Regions from separate parts of the Homo sapiens genome. Here region 2 is linked to region 1. Evidence: promoter capture Hi-C in 16 types of primary human blood cells and fetal thymus (Javierre and others, 2016). All regions are on one chromosome and are shown on one strand. Each heading gives the region's core, a stretch centred on a gene start or on the middle of the fragment in contact. The rest is flanking DNA. Distances are from core to core; before and after follow the strand shown.

Region 1 (3,650 bases), core at 84-2,583:
AACGTACTGCTTTCGGCTGGGCACGGTGGCTCACGCCTGTAATCCCAGAACTTTGGGAGGCCGAGGCAGGCGGATCACGAGGTCAGGAGATCGAGACCATCCTGGCTAACACGGTGAAACCCCGTCTCTACTAAAAATACAAAAAATTAGCCGGGCGTGGTGGCGGGCCCCTGTATCCCAGCTACTCGGGAGGCTGAGGCAGGAGAATGGCGTGAACCCGGGAGGCGGAGCTTGCAGTGAGCCAAGATCGCACCACTGCACTCCAGCCTGGGCTACAGAGAGAGACTCCGTCTCAAAAAAGCAAAACAAAACAAACAAACAAAAACAAAAACAAAAACAAAAAACAAAGATTTCTAAGGCAGTATTGAAGTCAAATGAAGTGTAAGTAGGAGAAAACAAGCTAAATCATTCAGCTGGTGAATTAATATTTACAGCGGTATGCTTCTGGATAGACAAGTCCCACAAATTCATAAATAAATACTTTTTTTTTACCCTAATTACTGGTCTTTTACATCAGTTAATTTAACACTTATTTCCAGGGCTAAATTGTCATTTAAAAACACGAAATCAATTACTGAGTTCCAAATATCCAAGCAAATCCATCAGCCATTTATAAATTAAATTGTTTTTAGGAAAAACTTAAGAGAAATACATTTGCTTTGCTCTATTTGTCAGAGGTTGCCATTGCAGTCCAGAAGGAAAAAAAAAATCAGTGCAACATGAGGAAGTCTTACGAATCTTTGTAAAATGTTTGTAGTAGATGAGAAAGGGAAATGAAAGTTAAAAAGAAAGGCAACAACAATGGGTACTTGAAAGGTAACGTTTTACATTTGCCTAATGGCATACTTATTTGAATGCATTAAACACACAGTACTTAAAAAGCAGAGGTATAGGTTAGAAAGTCATTAGAAACCGTGACACATATCCAATCCTGGAACTTTACCCCGTCCAGAGAGAAAAGAAACGCTGGCCCGAACCCCACGATCAGGCCCCAGCCTTTTCCAATCTCTCGGAAACAGATCAAGCTATAAGCAATTCAATCGTTGCTAAAGAGACACGCCGGAAGCCGCCGCTGGTCTCCGGGCTCCCGGCCACGCAATTCATGGTCACCTCCTGGTGCGCGTGGTCCCTCCAGGTCACCCAGCGCCTCCATCCCCGGTGCGTGGACTCCGGCGCCCCAGCTCCCGGCTTCAAGCCACGTCCTTGGACTCGACCTCCAAGGAGCCACTGGCACTCTGGCGGGCGGCCGCTGCTCAGCTGGAACCTGGCATCCCCGACTCCCTGCAGGCAGCGATCCGCCCGGCCCGGAGCTCCCCAAAGCCTTCCAGGACTCTGGGTCCCCGGGAGGAGGCCGGGGGCGGGGCAGGGGTGGAGCAAGGCTCCTTTTTTTTTTGTTTTGCGCCCCCCCCCCGCCTCATTATCTTAATCCACCACCTCAGCTGCTATATCATGGTGTCCTTTTTCATTCTGTGACAGAGAGTGAAAAAAGATGAGTCTATATTCCATACAGCTGTACCCCCCTCAATCTTAAAATAAGTTCAATTTATTCCTACGAAACGAAAGAAAGGAAGCTTATGTAGACACAGAAAAGGCAGGGAGTACCTCAACTGAAAGACACAAAAGTGAATTAGAAAATTAGGTTATACAGGAACTTTGAAAGAGTGAATTATTTTTCACAGTGGGTAAATGCGGTAGTGTTCGTAATTACTGAAGCCAGACACTATTGAACCGGAAATGAATTAACCTATGTGAAGCACCTGGAGTCGAAAAATATTTGCAAGAATACTAATGAATATCGAGGAAGCATGGCGAAGTGGCTAGGAGTGCGACCTCTGGAGGCAGGTGCCAGGGATTCAAGCCAGGGCACTTGCTGGCAGTGTGTAACTTTGGATGACAAGGTCAGTTTCTCTACCTGTACAACTGAGATTATAATGTTTATCTCGTAGGGCGGCTGTGAGCATTGGCGATAAAGTGTGTTAGTAGTTAGCACATGAACATGATGGCTGCTACCTTACTCTCACACTCACAGTTTTCTTGCATAAAAAATAGGTTTCACTTATTTTCACCGTATTTACTATTTGGGAAGTGTTAAAGCTCGAGGACTGGCTGGACACGGTGGCTCATGCCTGTAATCCCAGCAGTTTGGGAGGCCGAGGTGGGCAGCTCACCTGAGGTCAGGAGTTCTAGACCAGCCCGGCCAACATGGTGAAACCCTGTCTCTACTATAAAAATACAAAAAAATCAGCCAGGCGTGGTGGCAGGCACCTGTAATCCCAGCTACTAGGGAGGCTGAGGCAGGAGAATCGTTTGAACCTGGGAGGCGGAGGTTACAGTGAGCCAAGATCCAAAAGAATTGTGTGAGGGTAGCTTTATCGACTGAGAATCTGCCTCAGATCCACTGTACAAGGTCAGTTCCAGTACACAGTATGGCTGATAGTAAGTTTGTAATTACTGTGCCACCTCATTCCAGCCTGGGTGAAAAAGCGAAACTCTGTCTCAAATAAATAAATAAAGTTTAAGGACTGGGAAATTCTTGTTTTGAAGCCAAAGCAAAACAAAAGACTGAGTTACCACTTTGTGCCAGGCATTATGAATTTAAAGAGGAATGAGCCCCATCCAGACTCTGCCCTCAAGTAGCACACCTTCTAGCAGATGAAATTCACACTAATTAATAATCTACTATAATGCAATCGGTTGTATACAAACATATTGGAAGAACCATTTACTTTGGCAAATGGGTCCTGGATGACTTCCTGAGGAAGTGATGTTACCTTGGTTCTTGAAGGTTATGTAAAAACTCCCCAGTGAGGGCCGGGCGCGGTGGCTCACGCCTGTAATCCCAGCACTTTGGGAGGCCGAGGTGGGCGGGTCACGAGGTCAGAAGTTCGAGACCTGCCTGACCAACACGGTGAAACCCCGTCTCTACAAAAATACAAAAATTAGCTGGGCATGATGGCACCCAGCTACTCAGGAGACTGAGGCAGGAGAATCGCTTGAACCTGGGACTCGGAGGTTGCAGTGAGCAGAGATCATGCCATTGCACTCCAGCCTGGGCAACCGAGCGAGACTCCATCTCAAAAAAAAAAAAAAAAAAATTCCCCAGTGGGCAAGTTGTAAAGGAGAACCTAGAGAACCACTCTGAACAGAAAGTTCCACTCTAAGCCAGGTGCTGTGGCTCACGCCTGTAATCCTAGCACTTTGGGAGGCCGAGGCAGGCAAATCACCTGAGGTCGAGAGTTTGAGACCAGGCTGACCAACATGGAGAAACCCTGTCTCTACTAAAAATACAAAATTAGCTGGGCATGGTGGCGCATGCCTGTAGTCCCAGCTACTCGGGAAGCTGAGGCAGGAGAATCGCTTGAACCTAGGAGGCAGAGGTTGTGGTGAGCCAAGACAGCACCATTGTGCTCCAGCCTGGGCAACAAGAGTGAAACTCCATCTCAAAAAAAAAAAAAAAAAAAAAAAAAGAAAAGAAAAGAAAGTTCCAATCTAGCAAAGTTTCCCTAAAGTAGCCTTATGAAATCTTTATGATCTAACCCCTGACAGCTTCTCCAATCTCATTTAACTCTATGCTTTCTCTTCAATCTAACATCAATCTGTAGAGGGAAATTTTCTTGAATGATTTCTTTGATGATTACATTTCCTCTTTT
Region 2 (4,071 bases), core at 163-2,662, 2.7 Mb after region 1:
TGCTATCAGAATGACCTGACTAAAAATGTAAATCGGATAATGGCACTCTCCTGCTGAAAATTTTTGAAAGGCAATCTGTAAGAGAAAATGATTACTTTGCCTAGGATACAAGATTCTCCATCTCCCTGACTAGTTTCATCTCTCGTTAGCTTCTTGTTCCAATTTTATGCAATATTGAATCATGTGTACCATGCAGTTTTATGCAACATTGAATTATGTGTACCATGAAAAACAATCCATAGCCTTTCACGCCCCGTCCTTACTCATATTGTCCTCTCTTCCTGAAAATTCCTCCTTTTACACTCCTGCATCACAGCCAAATGTTGTCCATCCTTTGAATCTTAAGCAGGTTGACTGACTCCTTCAAACACTCCTACTCCCTATTAGACTTCGGATACTCATTCTATATATTAGACTTTGGATGCTCATTCTATAGTTTCATAGTTTACTTTGTATTTTCTCTATCCCCAGCATCTACCACAGTGTCTATGAAATAGTTGGCATTTCATGAACATTTGTTGAATGAATAATGGATAACATATATTGAGCTCCTTCTAGGAGGTATGCATTGTAGGTGTTTTATGTACTTTTCATCTGTCCTCACAACTGCATTTAAGTACCTGCTTTTCCAAAGGGAAGTTATAACTCTGACTGCTCATTCTTAGTAGGGTGTTAGTTTCAGAATACAATCCCCAGACTAGCGGATGTGTAACCCTGTTATCATCTCTTGCTTCTCCATTTACAGTAGCATGCAGAGGTGCAGTGGGGTGGGGGAGGTCAGGGAATATTTCATAGCAGAAGTGACATTTAAGTAAAGACCAAAATAATGTGTAGAGTTGTCCAGGTTAGGAAGGGTTTCCAGGTAGAAGAAGGTGGCGTATAGTGTTCACTACAAGAAAGTTTGGTATAATACAAGAACTGGAAGAAAAAAAAAAAAAGTTCAAGTTGGCTAACTAAAAGGTAGAGAATGAGACTAGGGGCTTTTGGAGGAGACAAAACAAGAGAGTTAAACAAGCTATGAAGAGACCCAGACAGTATTGGTCAGTGGAATACCACTATAGAATTTTATGGAGTGAAATTTTCAAATTTTAATATCATAAAGATAACTCTGGCTGCAGGGTGGAGAACAGACAGGAAGGAAGCAAATCTAGATCTGGGAATACCATTTAAGATGCCGTTGCTGTAAGCCATGTAAGAGACAAAGGTGGCATGGTCAAGGCTAAGAAAAATCAGAATGGAGAGAAATGGACCAATTTGAGAAATTTTTAGGAGGTAAAAATGTCAGGACTTAGTGATTGATTGGATGGAAGAGTGAATGATAAGAAATAATAAAAAACGATGACCAGCTGTTTTGCCTTCCCCTTGGCAAGTAAAGAGGTGGCAAGCATGAAAGGGGAGTGAGGAAATAAATATGTTGGGTCTAATGGGAGCCAGGTTTCTCACTGACAGAGAAGGACGTTACAAATTGAGAGAGGAAGAATTCCACAGTGACCTTTGTGGTGATGTTGAATTGGAATTGAATATGTCAGTGTCAACTCATAGTTTTCAATATATACATAAACATATGTAAAAATAAATATAGAGGAAAGTATGTCTGTATGTGTGTGCGTATCTATCTATTATGCTCTTCCTAGCTCTATCTGCTGAAAGGGTTTCAGAGTAATGGTATACTAGAAGCAATGAGCACATGTGCCTAGATCTTGGTTTCTGAACAGTATTATTCACTAAAAGTAACTGGGTCCCTTGGAGAAATGGTTGATTTTAGAACAGGAGCCTGGAAAATTCTTGTTGCACCAGAAGTTAAGGAAGTTAATACAGAATGAAGAAACATATCAAAAGGTCACAGAAGCCAGCTTGAAGGAGCCACCACTGGCCACATCTGGGTCAATCTGAGCACCAATATAATGTTAATGGATTATAGTCCGCTAAATAAAATAGGAATATTTGAGCCCATACTAAAATGAATAAATGATTTTTTTGAAAAATCAGGATAAAGAAAAGCTCTGCCTTACATAAAAATGCCAACTAAATGTAATGAATGTAGACAGTGTTATATGTAGAAACATCATTATTTGGCAGTCATGATAGTAACAGTTGATTCAGACTAGAATCATCAGTGTATGCTAAAACTAGAGGGTGAGAGTATTAAGAGACATATAATATTTATATAGTCTCAAAGTATCTCTCCAGCAAATACTTATTAATTACACAGAGAAAAATTAGAAAACTTGACAGTGTAGAAATCTGGCACTGGTGAGCGAAGTTACCATCAGCAGTCATGAGACAAATCAGCATCGTGTATGTCCTGGTTAGAGGCACTTAGAATACACTTCTGTGACATTCCTGCCAAAAATGTGTAATCCGAATCAATCGTGAGGAAAAAATCAGACAACCCAAATGTCCCAAATTGAGGGACATTCTACAAAATAATAGACCTGTACTCTTCAAAGATCAAGGTCATGAAAGACAAAGGAACAACTAAAGAACGTTTTTAGATTGAAGGAGAATTAAGATACATGACAATTAAGTGGAATACATGATTCTGAATTGAATCCTTTTGCTATAAGGATATTATTGGGACAACTAACAATTTGAATGGGGTCTCTGGATTAGATGGTAGTATTTTAACAATATTAATTTCCTGATTTTGATGACTATAGTGACATAGATATTTTTGGTTTTAGAAAATACATATTGAAGTATTAAAGGTGATGAGGCTTCATATCTGCAACCTATTCAAATGGTTCAGGAAAAAAGTATACATAAATACTGTAAATAAATATAAACATAAATAATATACATAAAGAAAATGATAAAGCAAATGTTAACAGGGAATTTGGGCGAAAGCAGAAGTTCTTTATACTATTCTTGCAATTTTTCTGTAAGTTTATAATTATTTTAAAACTATAAAAGAAGTTTGAAAGGTGCCGAGGTTTCTGGCTCAGGTAACTGGGTGGAGAATGGCTAATCAGTTAACGACAAAAAATCAGGAAGAGCAAGCATGGAGGAAAAGATGTTTAGTTGCAATGGGATGTATGGAGTGGGATGTTCAGCAGGCAGTTGAGTATATACTAAACATATTAATGAGCCCCATTCAAACTGAATAAAGCAGATATGTTGCTTTAGCTCTCATTAGTCGAGAGTGCAAGACCAAGGGCACTCCGCTATCCTAGGAGAGGCAAACAATTAAGAGTGGTAGTATGGTAATAATTCTAAAAATTGGCTGAGTATCCATGAAAAAAATTGTGTGTATATATATATATATACACACACATATATGTATAAACATATATACACACATATATGTATAAATATATATCCACATATATGTATATATATACACACATATATGTATATATACACACATATATGTATAAATATATATACACATATATGTGTATGTGTGTGTGTGTGTGTATATATATATGTATGTATATAAATTGAACCGTTTAGGAATAAAATAGATTTAGGGTATTCGACACATTTAATACATAATGAATAGTGAATTTCTTGAATAATATAATGCCTAAATGTGACTGATATGCAAAATATTTAAATCCCTTACAGGATGTGCATTTACCAATCAGAACAGATGTTGGCTTTACTGCTTGTATTAGTTTTCTGTATTAGTTTGCTTGTATTAGTTTGCTGGGGCAGCCATAACAAAGTACCACAGAAATTTATATTCTCACAATTCTGGGGGCTAGAAGACTGAGATAAAGATGTCTGCAGGGTTGGTTTCTTCTAAGGACTCTCTTGTTGGCTTGTAGATGGTTGTTGTCTCCCTGTGTCTTCACCTGCACTTCCCTCTGTACCTGCCCGTATCTTAATCTCTTCTTATAAGGACAGAGTCATATTGGATTAGGGCTCACCCTAATGACCTCCTTTTAACTTAATTACCTCTTTAGAGACTCTGTCTTCAAATACAGGCACATTCTGAGGTACTTTAAGGTTAGAACTTCAACATATGCATTTGGAACTGGGGCATAACTGAGTCCATGACACTATTGGAGAGGGTTCTGGAGCCATAACAGATGGAATGAATGGGCCTTGTTTGGATTCTAATTTAAA

What was found. The method cuts DNA at HindIII sites, captures the fragments that hold promoters and counts their contacts. A CHiCAGO score of 5 or more calls a contact.
Region 2: a fragment that was not itself captured here is called in contact with the fragment with the promoter of SLC18B1 in region 1 in 1 of 17 cell types (total CD4 T cells); the score reaches 10.4 in total CD4 T cells.

Annotation. Positions count from the first base shown.
Region 1 is chr6:132,797,304-132,800,953 of GRCh38, forward strand. SLC18B1 (solute carrier family 18 member B1) reads right to left here and starts at 1,334. Exons shown (of 14, transcript NM_052831.3): 1 at 1,111-1,334. The coding sequence starts at 1,153. RefSeq lists an enhancer at 1-120 and a silencer at 1,352-1,401. The HindIII fragment of the contact is 1,643 bases long and covers 1-1,569 here.
Region 2 is chr6:135,498,881-135,502,951 of GRCh38, forward strand. The region is part of intron 2 of AHI1-DT (AHI1 divergent transcript); the gene reads left to right. Among named protein-coding and RNA genes, the nearest start is that of AHI1-DT, 3.1 kb to the left of the region's middle. The HindIII fragment of the contact is 6,529 bases long and covers 1-4,071 here.